Linked DNA regions of Homo sapiens: regions 2, 3 and 4 are each linked to region 1. The links are contacts of gene promoters, found by promoter capture Hi-C in human tissues and cell types (Jung and others, 2019). All regions are on one chromosome and are shown on one strand. Each heading gives the region's core, a stretch centred on a gene start or on the middle of the fragment in contact. The rest is flanking DNA. Distances are from core to core; before and after follow the strand shown.

Region 1 (2,508 bases), core at 6-2,505:
TGTATGGCCAATGAAAACTGTATTGCTGTAAATCTCTTAGTGATATTTCTCCCCATCCTCCTCTCTCCATTATATTCACAACAGAAGGAAATTAAACTTTGTAAGAATTTTCTTGACTTTGGTTTAACTTTAGCTTCCCAGCTGTCTGCTCTTACAGTATCACGTAATGAGCAAAGCGGTGGGGCTAGGGGGCCGGAGGGTAGAGTGTTAACTTTAGCAAGCAGAAGAAAAGCAATAAAAGACCTTGCATCAGACAGTGTCTCTCCCTCTGCCCCCTCTTCCTCTGCTTCCCCGCCATCCCACCCCCTTCTCGAGCCCTTACACACACATTCTTCTGGGCGGCCTCTAACCACACCATCTCCACAATCATTTGCAGAAATTAGAAACAGACTCCGGGAGCCCTTCCCTTAAGCACGCACAGAGCGGAGCTGTGCAAGCACGACGGGGCAATGTCACTCCCTATTACCCCACAATCTCTTACTCCCCCTGTGGGTTTCATTCCCGAGAATCCGGCTTTCTTCCGCAGAGGAGATGGATCTACCTAATTAGCAATGGAGTTTCATCTCATTCTTCCCCACTCCAGTCACCCCACCCCCACTCTAACGTACAAAAACACCCACCACCAAAACCAAAGAAAAGTTCCTTCTACCAGGGCAACCGAGGAGTTGGGTTTAGGGACTGGAGCGAAAGCAGAGAGAGGAGGAAGAGAACGAGCGCAATGTACTTTGTTTTGCACTTCTGCACATGCAGCGCAGAGCCCAGGGCGGCTCTCGTCCTTACCGGCTGGTCCCGAGACCGGGTCCTGCTACTGGAGCGCCGGGCGAGGGCTGCAGGGACGCGGCGTCGGGGCGGGCCGCCGGCAGCCGCCGCGGGCGCCGAGAGCCACCACCACTTCTCCCACAAGCGGCTGCGGGCGTGGGCTGAAGGAGCTGTAGAAGGAGCCTGGGGAGGGGGAGAAGAGGAGCAGCATCTCCTCCTCCTCCTCCTCGCCTCGGAAACGCTCCCCAGCGGCGATCCCGGCCGACTGCCTGACCCCCGAGCGCTCAACGCACCCCCGCCGCCCTACTGTGCTCGACGCCTCTCCAAGAGCTTCGCCAAAACCTTCTGGCGCGGGCGGCTCAACTCCTGTAGGCGACTCTGACCGCTGCCGAGGCGGACCGGGGAGCTACGGAGCACGGCTCGCCAGCACGACGGTCTCCAGGGGCCGTGAGCATGGTGTGTCACCCTCGCCTCAGCGTGGCCGCTGGAGCTACTCGCACCACTGGGGCTCCACCTCGGGCAGCCGCGCCGGCTCCGCCCCCCCGGTCCTGTCACTCAACCATTCCCCGGCACTGGGAGGACCGCAGATCTCCCACCCCGAGCTCCCCTCGACCTCATTGGCCCGCCTGGCATCCAGCTCCACCTCCTCCCTAGGGACGAGGTCGCCAGGGAGACCAGCGCCCCGGTTGCCATGACAACCAGTGCCTTGGGCCTGGCTTTTCGCGTTCTTCGGACTAGCCAGAGGCTCAGGTTGGTGACCGAGCGGCAGAGTTCCTAGCGCCTGCAGTGTGGTGAACTCCAACTTTTAGGCCAAGTTGAAAATGCAGCCGACGACCCCCACACTTCTAACTTCAGAATCAAAACTATGACCCTAGGGAGTGAGGAGGAGAGTGAAAAATGCGTAAGTGCTGGCTCCTCCCTTACTCTTCGCTGCCTCTCAGCCTTGTTTCTATATTCTCACGGGGCGCTTTGGTCTTTGAAAGGAAGAGGAGAATGGGGGAGAGGAAGAGCATGGCTTTGCCAGCTCCTTGCAGCAATATAGCAACTTAGAAATGGCGGGGTCAACGAAAAAAGCCCGGTGAGTTTTCCCACGGTTGTAAAGCTATCTTCAAAAGTGTGGTGACAGCACAACGCCAAATGCCCTAGGGAAAACTGAAATTCTCATATTTTTGAAAAAAGTTTGTAAATACTTGCCTTGTTATTTTATCTATGAGACTAAAATAATCCCGAAGTTTGAAAATTTAAGGAAAAGGTTTAACATAGTCGATAACCTCCCACTTTTCTATATACACTGAAATTTGGCCAAGGTATATCCAGACAGCTGTACCCCTCCTTGCTGCAAGCCGAAATATTTGAGTTTCAATAGTTAAACAAGAGAGTCTTGCTGAATTCATGAACAAATAATATCCTGTGATTTGAGTTTTGAAAGTTTTGGGTTATTCTCAGAGGTATAAGGTAAACTGGTCCACTCTGGAAAGGGTACCTGAAGATAAATTTAGTCTGAGACCCTTAATGTTGAGCCCTAGGTAAATCTGAATTTCATGGCTGGCTCCAAAGTGGAGAGATCTGAGGCTTATTTGGCTTCCCCAAAAAAAGTCAAAGCAGCAATCCTAGGTTCCCTAGCCCCTGAGGCTGCCATACATGTATGATGAATGAGGGAATTAATAGTAATGATTTATCTTTGGCGAGCACTTGAGTTTTCATTATATCATTTACTAAATGAATAACTATGATAGATATCTTCAGTCA
Region 2 (2,508 bases), core at 5-2,504, 210 kb before region 1:
CTTTCAAATTTTGGCTTGTCTATAGGATCAGATCAAAGGAAAAGTGGAAGAAACTAAATGGCTCTATTAAGAAAAACATGGAAGGCCTCTATCAACAAGGTTGCTAGATCCACATTTTAAATATCGATAAAAACTACTTTTTGGAAACCCTAAAAACAAATTGCATTTTGATAACAACCTTTTCTGGTGACCCCATTCCAAATGCACCTCAGATAAAAGTCAGAGTCACTGCAACACTACCTAATCTGGCCCTGTTTCCTCTTAGACCTCACCTCCTCCTCTCTTTCCCCATGGCCACTTTCATCAAGCCAAATGATTCTCTGTGGCTTTAAATACAATGTGCACAGTTTGGTCTCAGGACTTTTGTACTGGCTCTTTCTGACTGGAATGGTTTTCTCCTCAGATATTCCCTCCATGGCTCACTCAACTCATTCACATTTTTCCTCAAATGCCATTTTCTCATACCTTCCCTGACTCCTTGTTGAAAATTACGACATACTTCTCATTCTCCCCCAGCCAATTGTCCTTCTCTATTTTTTTCCACAGCACTATCAATACTGGTATTTCCTCTTCAGAATGTAAGCTCCATGAGGTTAGAAATATTTTTTGTCTGTGTTGTTGACTGCCAAATCTCTATAAAGGGGTTGAGTTCTATAAAAATGTGTGGATTAAGTGGATAAATCACTGGAAGAATATTGAACAACTGTGCTAGCCTAAGTAATAGGTAAGCTAGTGTAAATCAATAAAAAATCATGAATCAAAAATTATGAGAGAAATTCTCAGGCTACATTTACATGACACCAATAGAACTGAATTGATATGCTTTGTTTCTATAAAAGTAAAATCACTGTTTCCTTAAGATAGCTAAATTTCTATGGGAAACATTACTCACATCTAGCTAGGATACTGTGCACAGGCGTGTAGTAAGGTGAGGGAGAACACAGAGTGAGGAAACAGTAGCAGCTTTACTTCAGGTATTGCCACTTATCTAATTCAAGCTAGATTGATCCAGTGGTTAGGTAACTGCAGTATGAATGATCTGAATAACAACTGTTTATGCTAAAATTATCCATGTATTCCTAAATATGTTAAGTTGCCTTTATGAGGGAATATTTTCTACTTAAAGATTTTAAAAGTAGTTTCAATGAGTCTACTTAGAGGTCTGACCATAAAAACACAAGTTTCCAACATGCAACTTCTGAGCCATTTTGTGCTATCACCAAGGATGATAATCACATTAAAAGTCCTGCATTTTCATTTCCATTTTAGTAGAGGACATACTGGAGGAAACTGGCAGAATTCATGAAGACAGTCACATTTAAACTTATATTACATAAAGAAAAAATAGCTAGCATTAGTTCCATTGCATGGGAACTAGGAAGTCACTGTCTTTTATCTAGAAATAACATTGGTGCAATCACGGAAAGAGTCCAGGCTTGGATTACAACTAGGAGATACACCTTCCAACAGGGAAAGATTTCATTCACTTACCTGAATATCTTCAAGGGTCATTGCCCTCACCACAAAGCCCTTCAGCTGCTGCATTCTCACAAGAGCCAGTCGAAGTCTGTTGCTGACCATTGTTGTTTTGCCTAGGATGTTGGGCCAATAGCGCTGGCATTTGATTTTTTCTCCTTCTACTTCTTGAGTCATCATGGCTATCACTGTGGATTTTTGCTCCCAAATCATCTGCCAGAAGTCTCCAACAGTTGTAGGCAGTGGTCCTTGGCAGGCAATGTAAACGAACTCTTCTTTCCCAACTGGTATCTTAATGAAGCTGGCATTGATATAGCCACCTTCATCTCCAAGAGGCACTCTTGTAGCATCATCTGTGAATTTTCCACCACAAAACAGAGCCATCCATATCATGCATTTTAAACAAGAGTCTTACAAATTGCATGAGTCAAAGATCATGAGAAATTCTCATAGTCACAGATGAAATCACCAACGTATTTTAATAGAAGTATATTTTCAAATTGTAGCACAGCCAAATTATTTTATGTTTATTCTTTTTGCTCATGTTACAAGTATCTAAGCTGTTAGTTTAGTGAGTTTCTGACATATGAAATTTGGTATTATTTACATAGATTTAGTTGAAATTAAAATTAGTAAGTTAATAAATGCATTTAGAATTGCCTAATAAGTAACTAGAGAAACAAAGAAAAACAACTGGTACTTCTCCATCATTATTTTAATGATGATGATGATAATAATAATAGCACTGAAAGGCAATGCCAAAAAATTTTTCATAGAACACAATTTAGTATTACAATAACACTATTAAAGTATATATTGCAAATGTTATTGGCATAATTAACTCTCACTCACCTAATAAAATTATATTCTTTTAATAAGCAGCCAAAACAATAAATTAACACAATAAAGAAAATAACAGCTCATTTTATTATCCAGGCATAAAGGCCCTTATCTTTGTTTTATTATAATTTCATATAGTCAAAATGTAATTTTTTAAACCAGGCTGCTCCAGTGAAAAGTATGTACAAGCTA
Region 3 (2,508 bases), core at 5-2,504, 190 kb before region 1:
ATTAATCTCCGTTTTCCTCCTAAATTTAATTTTTGAGTAAAACAGGAAAGAATCTCTGATTATTTCACCTTCTGGGTTAAACCCATAATTGTAACAAGCTGTCATATCCTAGGTTGTTTAGGTATTATTGTTACCTCAGTAAAATACTCAGGTAAAGGTGAACCATCGCAGTCTGTATCTTCTGTTCTCTCTTCTGATAACTTCCCATTCATCTTTAATGTACCTGAGAGAGGAATATATAGGCCAAGAGGAATTTATAAAACTATTGAGGAAGTAGAAAAGTTTTCATTTGCCTGCAAAAGAAGGCAGTGTATAAACCAATATCCATAAATAGTTTCAATGTTTTAACTAGAAAAGTTAGGAAGAAATGATCAAGTACATTTTGGTATAAAATTTCTGGTTAAAATTATCTACTAAAATTAAAATGAGAATGGCTGGGGGAAAATGTTTGGACTAACCCTACTAGAAGTAAAAGCCATGATATAAATGATACATTTGGAGATCTCACTAATAAGGTAACCCACTTACAAATATGGAAAATAAAAAAAATAGGAGATAACAAATTCTGTTTTGTTTCTGAAATATTACACATGAATGAGGAACAGAAGAAGAACTAATGCATTACATATTTACTCAAAAAATGCTCCCTAGAGACGTTTTTGTACTCCATAGTATACCAATTTATTCATCTGGTTCACGTACCTGGACCACAGGAGTATCCTGCTGCATTATTTTCGTTTAAAAGATTCTGGGCTTCCTCATCCACAACATCCAGCAGAGACTGGATAACTTCAGCTTCTTGGGAATCATCATAAATGTCATCTTCTTGTATATAAGATTCTTGAAAAATAATAATTTACATGGGGTTTTACTTTAAAAATATTGACACGAGAAAGGGACAAGGTGTTAAACAGAATTTGCTAGGTGCTTTCAAATTTTAAGCAACCAATTTTAAAAGTAGCAATGACTGGAAAAGTAGTTTACACTAATGTGATCCAGTCATTTTTAGTTCTAAAACTACCCTGGCTGCTATGATGGAAGACCACACAAATGCAAATTACAAAGAATAAACTAAAATCAATGTTGGTGATACGGCTTTTCACAAGGCATTAATAATTTAATGTTTATTTTCTTAAATGACTCTCAATGTATTAATTTATGAAAGAAACAAAGTTATGTTACAATGATTAAGGATATAATAGATCAGACAAAACATCCTCAAGATACTTTTTCTAAACTATTAGGTAGCCTGTGAATTGCTACTTCACAAAATACAAGAAACACTGTAAAACACAGCAGCTATCTTTTCAATCATTTAAAAAAAATTAGTCTCAGAGACGAGAATGAATACTGGGACATTTATATATTGTTCTTTTGTTTATTTGACCAATAATCTTTCCCTTTAAAGCTACAGTAACATATAAAGCAAAGAAAAGAGGATACCTATTTTTTTTTAATTACCTGAATTATTAGGGCATTTAGAGTAATTAGATGACTGATTTGGAAAACTACCTTTGGGCAGAGTCAAGTTTGGTGATCCCTTTATCTGATAAGTAGAACATTTTCCTTTGGGGTACGATATTTCATTTATTTCTTCCCCAGCAACCTAAAGCATAAAACCAAAGCAAATCATCAGATAGTATTTTACTAACTTCCAGGATCGGGGGACTGCACATTGTCTCTCTCCTCTTCTTTCTTAGTACAAGATCCATTTTACATCTCTCCACCTTAGATCAGTGTTTGAAAGGAAATATCAGTGCAATTAAATGTGCATAGGGCATGGGGCTTCCCATCATTAAATATATCTGGAAATACTAGGTGAAACAACATTAACTCAAAATTTTTATTCCAGGAATTTTCACAGTCCTTGCTAATATAAACTTTGAGTTGCCAAAAGATAACTCTATTATGTAGTACTTCTTAAAATATCTGACTGTAGACATCTCTTTTTTGAAGCAATTTTATAAGACTTGTCTTTCATACAATTTTAAAAAAGTTTAATAGGACTATTAAAGCTTAGAAGTTGAGGGAAAGAGAAAATACCAACTTTTCAAGTACTTGTGAGTGTATTACATGGATATAGTCTCCAATTTAGTGACCTGATAATCTATTAGGTATAAAGATTTTCAAATCTAGTCTAAGTCTCATATAAATTTAAGAAAAATAATGAATTCATAACAATAGAATAATTATTGAATAGAATGTAAATTTTGAATGCAATGTTCAACTGTAAAGCACTTCATGGAGCATAGCCTATCAAAAGAAAAATCACTTGAAAAAAATGCAAAAATAAATGCTTGGAATAAATTAAAATAATTTTATACAAATAAAAGGTTGTGCTTTGCTCTCAAGGTTTCACTCATTCTATTAAGATAAAAAGTACACATGGTAGATGCAATAGAATTTTAAAAAATAAATAGTGGTAATATAATATCAAAAAGCATCACTGGATTATGAAACTCCATTCTCAATGAGAAATTAATAGTATAGATATTAGCATTCAAGGAC
Region 4 (2,508 bases), core at 4-2,503, 160 kb before region 1:
CCTAAAAATACCCAGCAATTCTATATAGTTCAGTCTTATGCCTTCTGTTTTACCCTGGCTACAGGAATATTGAAACTAAATTTACAACTTCATCAAGTTTAGCTGTATTAATAATTTTAATTAACATAATGGCTTCTTTCTCATCAGGCTTTTAATTATTTCAACTTTAAGAGTCCAAGACTGAAACATTTTTGGAGGAAAGTAGTGTATGGATAGTAATAAAACATTATTTTCTACTCATGAAAGTTGTTAGAAAGATCAAATAAGATAATGTATATGAAAATACTTTGCAATCTAAATTCTAAAAATTTTAAAGCCAGTGATGTTCAAGTCACTGGACATTTCTGGTCTTCTGCCTACGATTTTGTTTCTTAGATTCCTTCTAAACTATAATCTCAGCATTTAAAGTCTTCAAAATATCCTCATAATATTTAGCATAAGATTAAAAACTGGTCCCTACTTAGTTCTCAAACTTTACCCTGGCCCCCACATGCCACCATACTGAGACTCCTGCAGTTCCCTAAATTTCTTTTCTCATGATTCCATGTCTCTGACCATGCTATGCCCTTGATCTGGAATGCTTATCTTTATTGTTCCGTCTGAATGAATCCTCCTTTCCCTCTAAAATTCAGCTCCAGCATCCCTTTAAAATAACTGCCTCAGTTAAAACTCTTTTTAATAGAAATTATCTCCCACCTGAACTATTATCTTAGCTTCCCAATTAGTGTCCTTATCTCTAATTTGTCATTTCATCAACATTAGCCTAAATCAGAGGTCCCATTACATCATTATGATGCTGAAAAATACAACTCTCCTTTAACTTCAATGTAAGATCAAATCCTAGGCATGGAACTCAAGACTCTTCATTGTTAGGTCCAAGACTATCTCAGTAAGGTACAAGAAATGATGGAAATGAGGGGAAAAACATTTTGTAAACCTACCATTTTCTTTTAAGGGTACTTGGGATGAAGAGTTTCCAGAACTATGCATAGTCATTCCTGTGGCATAAATTAAATATTAGACATTTCATAAGATGGTCAGATGCTAGATATCGAAGTGATTTCTTCTGATAAGCTCATAAAAATCAATAGAACAATAAGGCAGCAACATTTTGTATTTACACTGAGAAAACATCCTCCAATGGGCATTTTCACTATTTTAAATAGTAGCTAAGCATAATAACTTATTTTGCAGCATAAATTTAAACACAAATATATTGTTTCTGACAATACTTTGATATATCAAATATGAAATGATGAAACTGGAATGAGTTTTTCATTTGTTCAAGTGTTAAAAGAATATTCATTATTCAGTAAGAATGAATAAATACAAAATGCAGAAAAATTTCCTTTAAGAGTGTTTTATGTTTTCTATAGAGTATTTACTATTTTCCTTCGGATATGTAATGAATTTTCATGTAGACCAAAGCCTTCTTAATGAAAATAGTTTAGAATGTATGAGGCCCCGTTATATGTGAACACTTTGAAAAGTATTTCCTAAAAGATCAAATCAATCTCTTAGCCTATTTTCAACACAGAGTTACCTATAGAATGAAATCTTGCCTTTTATCTAAGTTTTTTTAACTGACTGAAATTAAATTGATAGTATAGTCTCTGAAAGTTGCGAAAGCCTACATTAATAAAGTAATGTTGCTTCCATAAATATTTATGTATTATAATGCAGAATTGTCTTTTGTCTTCATTTACTCGACATACCCTGAATCCAATTATAGAATAAAAAAAGCTTTTAAACTTTGGGTAATTAGAGATAAATTAACAAACCTTGAGCCTAAGAAGAGAGTTTAGTAGTATTTCGTAAGACAACAGAAGGGAAACAGTCCTCATTTCCCTTTTGTTTCCCACGCTGTTTCATATTTTGAGTAGTAGTTCAGATCTCTGTGCTTAAACATCCATTCTTTTCAAAGATCGACTCCAGTGCGTTTCCCTTTTAAGTTGCACAAGGCAACAGGAAACCTGAACTATTTATCTTAAAAGGTAGCATGTATAAAAGGTAAGCATCTTAAAAGGTGCATATATATAGATATATATGCACATGTGCATGCACACACACACACACACACACATACATACAATTTCACTTAAATAATATGCCCTGCTATCTGGGAGAATTTGAAGAAACTGAAATCAACTTAAAAACTTCTACCTATCAACCATAGCACATTTCATAAAATTATCTAAGGTTTTAGAGACAATTTTGTTCCTGCTAAGCTGAAAGCATTCTAAGTAAATGCTTCTCCAAAACTATAGCATTACCAGAGTTCATTCACATCGGCTTGAAAGGAAAAGCCAAAAAAGGTAATCCAAAGTAATGGCACATGACAGTCTTAGTAAGACTGTCATGGCAACTGTGACCAAGAGAAGCTAACAGACTGGGCGTGATGGCTCAAGCCTGTAATCTCAGCACTTTGGGAGGCCAAGGTGGGCAGACCCCTTGAGTCCAGGAGTTCAAGACCAACCTGGGCAACATAGTGAAACCCTGTCTCTACAA

What was found. Contacts are between HindIII fragments. The study calls those that stand out against the background at their distance.
Region 2: a fragment that was not itself captured here is called in contact with the fragment with the promoter of PTPN13 in region 1 in 3 of the 25 tissues and cell types used here (H1 embryonic stem cells, dorsolateral prefrontal cortex and hippocampus).
Region 3: a contact is called between a fragment that was not itself captured here and the fragment with the promoter of PTPN13 in region 1, in 1 of the 25 tissues and cell types used here (hippocampus).
Region 4: a contact is called between a fragment that was not itself captured here and the fragment with the promoter of PTPN13 in region 1, in 2 of the 25 tissues and cell types used here (dorsolateral prefrontal cortex and hippocampus).

Annotation. Positions count from the first base shown.
Region 1 is chr4:86,593,062-86,595,569 of GRCh38, reverse strand. It overlaps PTPN13 (protein tyrosine phosphatase non-receptor type 13), which reads right to left and starts at 1,255. Exons shown (of 48, transcript NM_080683.3): 1 at 781-1,255. It also overlaps a transcript of MAPK10 not described here. RefSeq lists an enhancer at 1,018-1,604. The HindIII fragment of the contact is 10,688 bases long and covers 1-2,508 here.
Region 2 is chr4:86,806,881-86,809,388 of GRCh38, reverse strand. PTPN13 (protein tyrosine phosphatase non-receptor type 13) reads right to left here. Exons shown (of 48, transcript NM_080683.3): 45 at 1,492-1,829. Among named protein-coding and RNA genes, the nearest start is that of SLC10A6, 41 kb to the left of the region's middle. The HindIII fragment of the contact is 5,393 bases long and covers 1-2,508 here.
Region 3 is chr4:86,783,563-86,786,070 of GRCh38, reverse strand. PTPN13 (protein tyrosine phosphatase non-receptor type 13) reads right to left here. Exons shown (of 48, transcript NM_080683.3): 38 at 1,513-1,606; 39 at 703-840; 40 at 135-223. Among named protein-coding and RNA genes, the nearest start is that of SLC10A6, 65 kb to the left of the region's middle. The HindIII fragment of the contact is 4,039 bases long and covers 1-2,508 here.
Region 4 is chr4:86,751,499-86,754,006 of GRCh38, reverse strand. It overlaps PTPN13 (protein tyrosine phosphatase non-receptor type 13), which reads right to left. Exons shown (of 48, transcript NM_080683.3): 20 at 942-998. Among named protein-coding and RNA genes, the nearest start is that of SLC10A6, 97 kb to the left of the region's middle. The HindIII fragment of the contact is 3,681 bases long and covers 1-2,508 here.